Linked DNA regions of Homo sapiens: regions 2 and 3 are each linked to region 1. Evidence: promoter capture Hi-C in 16 types of primary human blood cells and fetal thymus (Javierre and others, 2016). All regions are on one chromosome and are shown on one strand. The core of a region is centred on a gene start or on the middle of the fragment in contact, and the rest is flanking DNA. Distances in the headings are between cores, read along the strand shown. Region 1 holds the start of MAP4K5 (mitogen-activated protein kinase kinase kinase kinase 5). Region 2 overlaps SOS2 (SOS Ras/Rho guanine nucleotide exchange factor 2). Region 3 overlaps SOS2 (SOS Ras/Rho guanine nucleotide exchange factor 2).

Region 1 (3,564 bases), core at 1,065-3,564:
ATTTAAGTAAATTGAATTTGCATTTCTTTACAAAGCAACCCACTTCACTGATCTTGTTAAAATTAACTCAACCAGTATTTTAAAAATCCTTAAGATTCTTTTGGAGTTAGTATAAAACAAATGTTTTCCTCTTTGCATGAATTGCAGTACAAGTAAAATAATGATTATAGCAGACACATAGAGTCTCGACTTTTTAACCACCACATAGAGTCTTGACTTTTTCCATGCTATCTGCCTCTAGGTTGATGGTCAAAGCATATGGATCTGCCATTACTGGCAACATAAAATATCCGCACTCCAGGGTCTTGTTGAAGCCTATGACCTCAAACATTTCACTGCCTAATTCATTTTAAATGCTGTATTTCAAGAATAACATGCTTAAAGGATTGTCAGGATATTTGTCCTCGTCTCAAACTGGGCATTCAGTTTCTACTTTATGAAGAAGGCTCATTAAATAAAATTTTTGGAAGTCTTTGCATTAGGAAAATATATGCCTCTTCTTGATCAATTGGTTACTCTTGATCTCAAAAACACTATAAAATCCTCTGGTTGGCCGATTTGTCACACTGTTCTGGTTTCGTATTTTCCTTCTCTTTAACGTCATACTAGTTTGCCCACTTATTTTTATCTTGTTTTATAGTAAGTGTTTTCTGTGTGCTGCCTGAAATTCCCTGGAGTAACGCAAGTGTAAACATGTAAGAATAAATATATTTCAGACTAGATAAAGGATCAGTGCTTATATGGCCAGAGGAAAAAAATCTCAAATGAATCTATGACAGTAAACAAGTGCTAAGATACCAATAGAACATTTGAAGAGATTTTGAGTCATCGAAGCCAAAAGTATGTGCCCACCAAAACAAGTGCCAAGAATCTTTGAAAGAAGGAACTGTTCTTCAACAATTTTTTCAATGCAGCAAACACATAGGCTTTGTCCATGGAGCATGTAAGTCTGGGCTTACTTATGTTCCCCAAATAAGTGCCCTTTGTGTGTGGAGCACAAGAAAATACATATATGCCCTGTCCTGTTAAGGTGCGAATTTAATTTCTACATTATACAATTATCAACAATAAGGAGTATTGTCAATTACTCCTTATTATACATTATACAATTATCAACAATAAGGAGTATTTTAATTCTCAAGAGCAGAATTAAAAATTGGATGTTCAAAGCCACAAGCCAACATCTCCAACTTGCTCTTTTATGATGTTTCAGTCACTAAATGCAGTGGCTGAGTGTTATCTGGCTTTTCTGTTCAAATTCTCTATGAGGCTCTAGAAATAACTTAGCCAGTATAATGTAACACTGGCAACTTAATTTCTACCTTCAGAGCAAGACTGGAACTGAAACTGCAAAACAGCTTGTGAAATATCAGCCAAATTACTTCCCCGAACTCCTGTTCCATATATGCTGTGCATTGTTAAGTATTTTAAGACCTCTTATATTCGATAACCCCCCTTACTATCCTGTAAAACGCTTTATAAACACTTTCCTGGGTGTCAGATGCAAAATCTTACCCTCTTCAAGCTGCAGATAAGGACACCGAGATGTTGCCAAATATGCTGTTTTGTCCCAGAGCACATACTGAGGAAGTGGTAGAACCAGAACCAGTCTGTGACCCCTTTGTTTTACTTTTGCGGAACTCCTGGTCTCATTAAAGGTGCAATACCAGCGATGAGACACTGCGTGTGCCCAACAGGGACAAAGGTCATTGAGCAGTCCTAGGAATTCAGACTTTCAGAAATGTCTCAGAAGAACTAAGTAGAAGGCAGGTTGTGCAGGTGTGCAGTGCAGCCTCAAACTGGTACCACCGGGATCGGTTTGCAAAACAGGAAGGTGCAGTAGGGTGTGCCGGGACTTAGTTAACCTGGCACTCCCCCACCTCCTTCCCCGGCGCCCCGCTGCCAGGTTACTTCTGGCCCGGTGCCCTTAACGTACCTTTTCCGTGTTTAACTTGGAGGGCTACGTTCCCATCGCCCTTCTTCCTCTACCCGTCACCCTACAGGCCTACCTGACAAATGTGGGGACGGTTTAGCCAAGGCCCGTTGGCCCACGAATGCCCAGGCGTGTGCCTTATTTCTGAGAGTGGGAGGGAGACAGCCCAGGCCCTGCAAGGACGCGCCCGGCTAGGGGGGCGCGGTGGCGCGGTCGGGAGGGTGTTGTGTTCTCAGCAGGCCTCAGGGCGGCACTCTGGTTCTGCGGCCGGAGTGCTCGGGCGGGCCGCTGGGCGCCGACCCATGCTGGCTGGGAACGTGTCTCCCGGTGACGCAGCCCCGGGTGGGGAACGTGGTGCGGCGGCGGCGGCGGCGGCGACTGTACGCGCCTCCGCCGCCCCCGAGAGGACGCGCCGTGCAGCGGCTGAGTGGCGGCGGCGGCGACGGCAAACCCGGAGCTGCCGGCCGGCGCGCGGGAGGAGGACGCGGGTGCGGTCTAGGAAGTAGGTCCCGGGCTCCGCGCTCAACAAAGACGGGGCCGCCCCCATTAGGTACGGAGCCGGCCCTGGGCCCCGGCTGGCGGGGAGGCCTCGTCGGGCAGTTCGCGGGCGGCCGGGGAGGGGGAAGGGCCGCAGACCGAACGGGGATACGGGGCGCCGGGGGCCCTTCCAGGCCCCTTTCTCTTCCACGGCCCCTGGCGGGACGGAAGGGAAGGGGCCGGGCCGCGAGGGCGCGGGCCGCTGGGGGTCGTAGCCTGCGACGCCAACCAGCCTTTGCTCGTCCCTCGTGCAGACGGAGCTGCGGGCGGAGGCTCCATGTTGGGAAGCGGCGCCGTTCGTGCTTGTTAGCGGGAATCCGGGAGCCGCGGGGTGAGCTGGCGGGGGCCGGGCCCTAAGTGAAGATGGAGGCCCCGCTGCGGCCTGCCGCGGACATCCTGAGGCGGAACCCGCAGCAGGACTACGAACTCGTCCAGAGGGTCGGCAGCGGCACCTACGGGGACGTCTATAAGGTAAGTGAGGCTGGCCGTGCTTTTTTCCTGCGGTCGACTGGGTCCCGGGAATGGGGCCACTTTCCTGCGAAGTATTGGGGCGAGAGGAGGATGCTTTTATTGTTGCCTCTTGGGGAGAAAGCGGCCGGGGTCCCTTTTACTCGGTTCTGAGCACCCTCGACTCATGGCTTGTTCTAATCGCTACCAACAGGCAGAACTAACCACACAGTTGCAAACCGCTGTTGCACTTTTTTTGTGGTTTAAAGGCTTTTTAATAGGGCTTATTTATGGTATTGAAGGGAATTTGAATCTGCTTGTGGAATTACACCGAAGGATGCTCTAGTGTTAGCATGGAAAAATGCTTCATGGAAGATAGACAGGAAAGAATATTGACATTCAGACATTTGCATTTTTTTAAAAAAATTTGTTTCAATGGATGAGTTTGACTAAAAAAGCCATATGAAACCCTGTCTCTGAGCTTTAACTGTAAGCAAACTAATATTGGTGACATTTATGCAAGCATTATCCCATATAAAAAGATGCTTTTCCTGGTGGAAGTTTGATCGTTTGTTTTTGGTTGGCGATAAAAATGTGATATTAACTTGCTGGGTTTTGTTTTACTTTAGCGGTTCCTTTCAGGGATT
Region 2 (3,564 bases), core at 362-2,861, 380 kb after region 1:
AGGCCTCCAAATATGGTACTTTGAGTTAATTAAACTGAATACATTAAACATGAAACCTATTTTATGCTCTGCCTTTTCAGATCCCAATTTTGTTCGTACTTTTCTTACCACATATCGTTCATTTTGTAAACCACAGGAATTGCTGAGCTTACTGATTGAACGGTAAGAAAAATATGTATTTCAGTTATATTGACATTTTGTGAAAAATTAACTGTATTTTGTAAAGTGCCTAGTACCTAATAAATACTCAAGTTAATTATTGAACATATTTTATTTGGCATTAAATTGGCAGTATTACTATTCTCTTCAAATGGAGTACTCCCTAAAATCTGTTTATAAACACAGATCTTTTCAGCTCTTAGAAATATTTCAAGTGGTAATCAGAAAGACTAATTTAGAGGATGAAAGCACTATATTTTAATGAATATTGTTCTGTGTAATAAAATGATATTTTCTTAAAAGAGACTTTTCTACTTACCACTATTTTTTTTTTTGGACCGTAGACTACTTTGCCAAATACTTTCCACTTTTAAAACAAACTTGTTATGAAAACTTTCAAAACACATACAAGAGCAGATACAAGAATATAATAAACCCATTTATTCATCAACCACCTTCAGTAATTATCAACTCATTGTTTCATCTGTTTCCCTACAAATTTAAACACCCCACCCCATGATTATTTTGAAGTAGATCCTAGACAACATAATTCATCTATAAATATTTTTCTATGTATCTCTAGAAAATACGGGATCATTTTTAATAATCAGATATCATTATTAAACCTAAAAAATCAGCAATTCCTTTATTATGATTAACTTTTAAAAATTAGTGTTGGGTTGAATTTGTTTTACCTAGTATTATAGTGGCATTTTAAATGTTTTATAGTTTAAAATGTAGAATCTGGACTCCAGAATGATTTTTAGTTTTACGTTTTAAAACTTACTAAAACTTATTATTATACCAAAGCTTATTAACTGTATTATCAAGATATAATTCTAGATCTCTATCACTATGTTGTTTTATCAAACTAAATTTACCAGACTGAGTCAGTGTAATGTGCTATGAGGATCTACTTAGTTGTTTCCATGTCCAGAATAAGGAAAGCACACGTTAGACTTATAGTTTAGCTGTATTTCCTATGTTTGAGCAAGGTTTTTTATCTTTATCTTATCCACTTAGGTAAATTATTTAAATATTGTTAAATATTCGGTTTTGGCCCTCTCTTTGAATTTGTACTCATTTAAATAAATTTATTAGCCTACTTTCATTTTAATAATATAAATATTAAAGACATTGTTAGATAAGCAATTTCTGTCATGTTCTTTAAATTCCTTATGAATTCTTTCCTTGGCTCTTTTCCCTGGACCTTTTCTGTATTATCAGTGCTAAAAGACAAAACTTTAGTTTTTATAAAAGTAAGAATACAAAACGTCAGTTTTGTATAGCCAAAGGACAGTTTTTTGTAGTATATCATACCTCAAGGGAAGTTTAACAGTAATCCACTTTTCGTGGAAGTGGTAGGAAAGAAGGTTGCTTGCTGTTTTCCTCCTTGTATTTTCATTATGTATGAACGGATTTTTCTCCTTTTGCTTTTCTTCTTAGGTTTGAAATTCCAGAGCCAGAACCTACTGACGCAGACAAATTGGCAATAGAGAAAGGCGAGCAGCCAATCAGTGCAGACCTTAAAAGATTTCGCAAGGAATATGTCCAACCAGTACAACTTAGGTTTGGCTTGAATATTTTTTATATATATATATATACACATATATATACACACACACACACATTTTATGTGTCAGTTTTCAATATATAGTTAACACAAAAGCTCTCAGCTTTTAATTCAAATATAGGGAATATTTTTAACTTCACAGCAGTTAAGTTAAACTAAAAGAGTTCTTTCTCAGTGAAGCTATTCTTAAATACCCTGAAGAAATTCAAATATTTAAATATCCTATGTTTGCATCACATATCTCTGGCATGTGATATGTTATGCTTACGTATCAGGATACCTATTTTTTATTGTAAGTAAAAATTATAAAATTTCATGTGAGCTTTCCTGCTGTCAACCTTTTTTCACACTTTTTTCCTTCATTTCCCTTTGCGATCATACAGTAATCCTGGCTTTTTTTACAATTTATAATATTTGTGGAAGTTCTAGCCCTTTTCCCACTTATCTCTCACAAAATATATAGACATTTGTTAGTTTAATTGCAATAATTTCTAAAAATGTGTTTGATTGTAGAAGCTTCCAGTTAATAAATACTACTGTGTGCCGGGGATTACCCTAAATGCTTTATCTTTTTTATCTCATTCTTACAACATGATTACTATTCCTACTTTATATATAAGGAAATTGAAACCTAGCAAGGTGAAGTAATTTGAGCTAAGTTATGTAAAGGGAGTGGCAGGACAAGATTCAGACTCATGTCTGACTTTCTTTGCGTGTGTGTGTGTGTGTGTGTGTGTACGTACCACTAAGCATTGAAAATTGGAAGCGCCTTCTCTTAGCCCTCTTTACTGTCCAAGTAACCAAAGTATTATCTTCCTCCTTCCATTGGAAACCAAGTTATCTTATTAATTATATGTAATTTAAATTTTTTTTCTCTCTAAATTTCAAGTTTCCTTGATTACTGTTGACCAATAAATTGTAATTTTGGAACTGAGTATATTAGTTATTTATTTCCCAGGATAATTGCCACAAACAAATGCAGTTTTAGAAGAATGATAGTGCTCCCAGCTATATGTCTTTCACTAAAACTTTTAACGTCATTCTTTGTATAAGAAGATGAGATTATTTATGTATCAGCAATAAATAAGTAATTCTTTTCTACTAGCTGTGATGCATTTGTACTTATCTACAATCACATTAAATCCCTTGATATGACACATACATTTATGAGGTTGCTATTGGGTGGGGTAGGGGGTGGGAGTATAATCTTCGTTTCTCAGTCATATAAGCTCTTTATGTATTTCTAAGCATTTGCTGTGTTCTCAGTCCTGTACTTATAACTATGCTAAGTACAAAAATAACATAGACTGTCATGATATTGTGGCTTTCTTGGGGACTTTACTGGGGGAAAAAGACACATGAAACAGTTATATATTGTTCTACTTGGAGTGCTTAAGTGACTTAGAAAAATACATCCCTATACAATTTCAGGAATAGCAAAGATTAGGCCAGAGTAATTAGGGAAGGCATCTTGGAGAAGGTAAAATCTGAGACTGCCCCTAAAGGATGTATAGGCTTTAGATAGGTAGAAAGGTGACTGTAGGTATTCAGGGTCATGAGAAATAGTATGAACAAAGACAAGAAGGCAGAAATGAGAATGGTGTGCTGAGGACACAGATAAGGACATTGACCTGAGAGGAATGTAGGCATTGTATTGCAAGTAGTAGATGAGATTACCTGTATGGAATTGGATGGAGTGGAAAACTGTGAAATCCAAGCCAAGTTATTAAACCTGTTTATATAAATATTGAAAGATTTCTAGTAAAATGGGTGGTAGTAATTTTTCTAACATTTTATTATGAAAAATTTTAACATACAGCAAAACTGAGAAT
Region 3 (3,564 bases), core at 1-2,500, 350 kb after region 1:
GCTATTCCATAGGCAGTCTGCCTCGAGTAGCCTATATTGCTCTTTATATTTAGTAATTTTTTAGCAGAATTCTCAATCTCACATTTCTTAACCTTCCTTCTCTTTTTTCAGGATATCGAAAAGATTTTTAGTAACATTTCAGATATACATGAATTGACTGTGAAACTTTTAGGTTTGATTGAAGACACAGTTGAAATGACTGATGAAAGCAGTCCTCATCCCTTAGCTGGCAGCTGTTTTGAAGATTTGGCAGAAGTAAGTTTACAAAACTACTTATATTCTCATTAAAGCCCTAAATGCTGTAGTAAGAAACTTAGAGATGAGTCTTGGCAACATAGTGAGACCCCGTTTCCATAAAAAAGTAAAATAATTATCCAGGCATGGTAGTGCCCATCTGTGGTCCCAGTGACTCAGGAGGCTGAGGTAGGAAGCCTGGGAGATCAAGCCCATGATTGTGTCACTGCACTCCATCCTGGGCGACAGAGTGAGACCCTGTCTCCAAAAAACAAAATTTTTTTGTAAGATATTCTTTATGAAAATTAGAAGATACCACTGGCCATTATAAAAAGATATTTAAGATTTAACTGATAACAAACTAAAATCACATTGCCTATATAGTGACACTTTCTTTATAGTGTGTTTATGGCAATATTTATAGTGAAAGTTTATATACTAGAGTAGTATATAAACTAGAGTAGTAACATTTAGGTTTTTTTTTTTTTTTTAGTGGTAAGTATATTCAAGATGAAGGAAGATACATTTTATTGACCATAGCTCTTTACCTTCTATGGATTTTAAACTTAAAGTTGGAAAGAAGCTTTATATTATTTTAATGTTTTCCAAAGTAAAAATCATTTTATCTTTTAAATGACTATAAAAATAATGTAGCTCATTGTAAAAATATTCAGAAAAATAGATATATAAATTAGATGAAAGTCACTTTATTTTATAACACCCAGAGATAACTTATCCTTATATATTTCTGTGCATACATACGAATGTATGTGTGTTTGCAAAAATAGGATCCCACTATTTTATAACTTACTGTTTTTACTCTGTATATCATAAACATTGTCCATGTTAATGTATATACTTCAACACAATTTTTAAGTATAAATAATGTGATGTTATATGGAGACACCATAACATATTTTAACTATCTATTATCCATAGGTTGTAGAGTTTTTTCCTTTTTTTTTTTGTTATTGTAAACAACACTGCAACAAACATATTTGCACTATGCCTTGATATTCTAATCATTTTTTTTTTTGACATGGAGTCTCCCTCTGTCACCCATTCTAGAGTGCAATGGCACGATCTCGTCTTACTGCAACCTCTGCCTCTCAGGTTCAAGCCATTCTCCTGCCTCAGCCTCCTGAGTAGCTGGGATTACAGGCGCCTGCCACCACGCCCAGCTAATTTTTTGTATTTTTAGTAGAGACGGTGTTCCTCTCTGTTGGCTAGGCTGGCCTCGAACTCCTGACCTCATGATCCGTCCGCCTCGGCCTCCCAAAGTGCTGGGATTATAGGCATGAGCCACCGCGCCCAGTCATATATTCTAATCATTTTTAAGGATATATTCCTGGAAGTGGAATTGTAGTGCTAAAGACTAGATACATTTTTAGAACTTGGAAACACTTTGCCACGTTCACTTCCAGCTAAGTTCCAGTGTATGTAAGCTTCCTTCTTTCTTCACCCTTTCCCTTCACTAACTCGGTATTACCTTATTCTTTTTCTTTTTAATTCTTTTTTTCAAAATTTGTTTTGTTTTCATATCGGTTCTGCAGATATCCCATTAATTTTTGCCAGTCTAATGGGAAAAGAAATCTTTCTTCTTCTCTTCTCTTTTTTCTTTTCATTTCTTTCTTTTCTTTTGAGACAGGGTTTCACTCTGTTGCTCGAGCTGGAATATAGTGGCACAATCATAGCTCACTGTAACCTCGAACTCCTGGGATCAAGTGATAATAATCTGTACCATATTGGTAGAAAATATATTCTTTTAAACCTAATGCTTTTTCTCTTTTTAAAAAAATAGGAGCAAGCATTTGATCCTTATGAAACATTATCACAGGACATTCTTTCACCAGAGTTTCATGAACATTTCAATAAATTGATGGCCAGACCTGCAGTTGCTCTACACTTTCAGGTAAACTTAAATTGAAGGTTTTTTTTTTTTTTTTTTTTAATAAAGCAAATAAATATCTCACTATTTTATCCTTCAAATATTTGTAATTCTGGAATCCTCGTAATCCTTCAAATCTTGTTCATTCTAAACCTGTTTTGGATTATCTTCTGTTTTCTCTCTGGAGTTCTGTCTGTTCTTATTGTAGAAATCTTTTATAGTACAACATCATGAGTACTGAATGACCAGAAGAATTTGGCACATACTAGATCTGGGGTATAAAGATGAATTTGGCTGGGTGCAGTGACTCATGCCTAGAATCCCAGCATTTTGGGAGGCCAAGACAGGTGGATCACTTGAGGTCAGGAGTTTGAGACCAGCCTGGCCAACATGGTGAAACCCTGTCTCGACTAAAATTGCACAAGTTAGCTGGGCGTGGTGGTGAGCTCCTGTAATCCCAGCTACTCAGGAGGCTAAGGCAGGAGAATCACTTGACCCGGAAGGCGGAGGTTGCAGTGAGCCGAGATCGCGCCACTGCACTCCAGCTTGGGTGGAATAGTGAGACTCTGTCTCAAAAAATAAATAGAAAAATAAATAAAAAATAAAGATGAATCTGGAGTGTGATTTCAGGATTATGTTCCCTATAGGAGGAAGATTTGGAGAAATCTTAAAAAGTTGAGATAACCTCAACCTCCTATGTACTCATACTGATTTTTCTATGAGGCCTACAATTTAAAGGAGATAAATACTGTATTGAGGGAGAGTATGCAAGTTAGTTGGTTCAGGAATACACTTAGATAAAATGAAAATAAGTGGAGAGATACAAATAAAATTTTATTTTTACTATCTCAACACTAACAACAAAAGTTATGTTGGCATAGGTAATACTTGGCTAAATATGTAAAACTTCTACATCTAAACTGACTTTTCCAGCCAGACGTGGTGGCTCTTGCCTATAATCCCAGCACTTTGGGAGGCTAAGGTCAGAGGATTGCTTGGACCCAGGTGTTTGAGACCAGCCTGGGCAAAATAGGGAGACCTCATCTCTACAAAATATAAAAACTTAGCCGAGTGTGGTGGCGTGCACCTGTGGCATGCCAGGAGAATTGCTTGAGCCTGGGAGGTCAAGGCTGCAATGAGTCATGATCACGCCACTGCACTCCAGCCTTGGGTACAGAGTGAGACCCAGTCTCAAAAAAAATAAAAATAAAAAATAAACTGGCTTTTACCCCTTGACGTTTGAATATGGTAAAAATCCTTATAGTCCTGAAACAAACAAGCAAACAAATGAACAAACCTTTCTTCACTCTAGTAGAATAATTAACTAGAGTGAAGAAAGTTTTTTCATTTCCTCTCTCATTTTTTCTTTGCAGCCAATTGTCTTTATATTATTTTTTACCATTCTTTATGAAAACACTACCATGTATGTTTTAATCAGGATA

Evidence for each region. The method cuts DNA at HindIII sites, captures the fragments that hold promoters and counts their contacts. A CHiCAGO score of 5 or more calls a contact.
Region 2: a contact is called between a fragment that was not itself captured here and the fragment with the promoter of MAP4K5 in region 1, in 1 of 17 cell types (erythroblasts). The highest score is 5.3, in erythroblasts.
Region 3: a contact is called between a fragment that was not itself captured here and the fragment with the promoter of MAP4K5 in region 1, in 1 of 17 cell types (erythroblasts). The highest score is 5.2, in erythroblasts.

What each region holds. Positions count from the first base shown.
Region 1 is chr14:50,531,319-50,534,882 of GRCh38, reverse strand. MAP4K5 (mitogen-activated protein kinase kinase kinase kinase 5) reads left to right here and starts at 2,314. Exons shown (of 33, transcript NM_006575.6): 1 at 2,314-2,435; 2 at 2,725-2,941. The coding sequence starts at 2,834. It also overlaps a transcript of ATL1 not described here. RefSeq lists a silencer at 1,991-2,620. The HindIII fragment of the contact is 11,447 bases long and covers 1-3,564 here.
Region 2 is chr14:50,155,163-50,158,726 of GRCh38, reverse strand. It overlaps SOS2 (SOS Ras/Rho guanine nucleotide exchange factor 2), which reads left to right. Exons shown (of 23, transcript NM_006939.4): 11 at 81-162; 12 at 1,606-1,728. Among named protein-coding and RNA genes, the nearest start is that of VCPKMT, 40 kb to the right of the region's middle. The HindIII fragment of the contact is 1,279 bases long and covers 972-2,250 here.
Region 3 is chr14:50,179,154-50,182,717 of GRCh38, reverse strand. It overlaps SOS2 (SOS Ras/Rho guanine nucleotide exchange factor 2), which reads left to right. Exons shown (of 23, transcript NM_006939.4): 6 at 112-255; 7 at 2,036-2,146. Among named protein-coding and RNA genes, the nearest start is that of SOS2, 51 kb to the left of the region's middle. The HindIII fragment of the contact is 862 bases long and covers 820-1,681 here.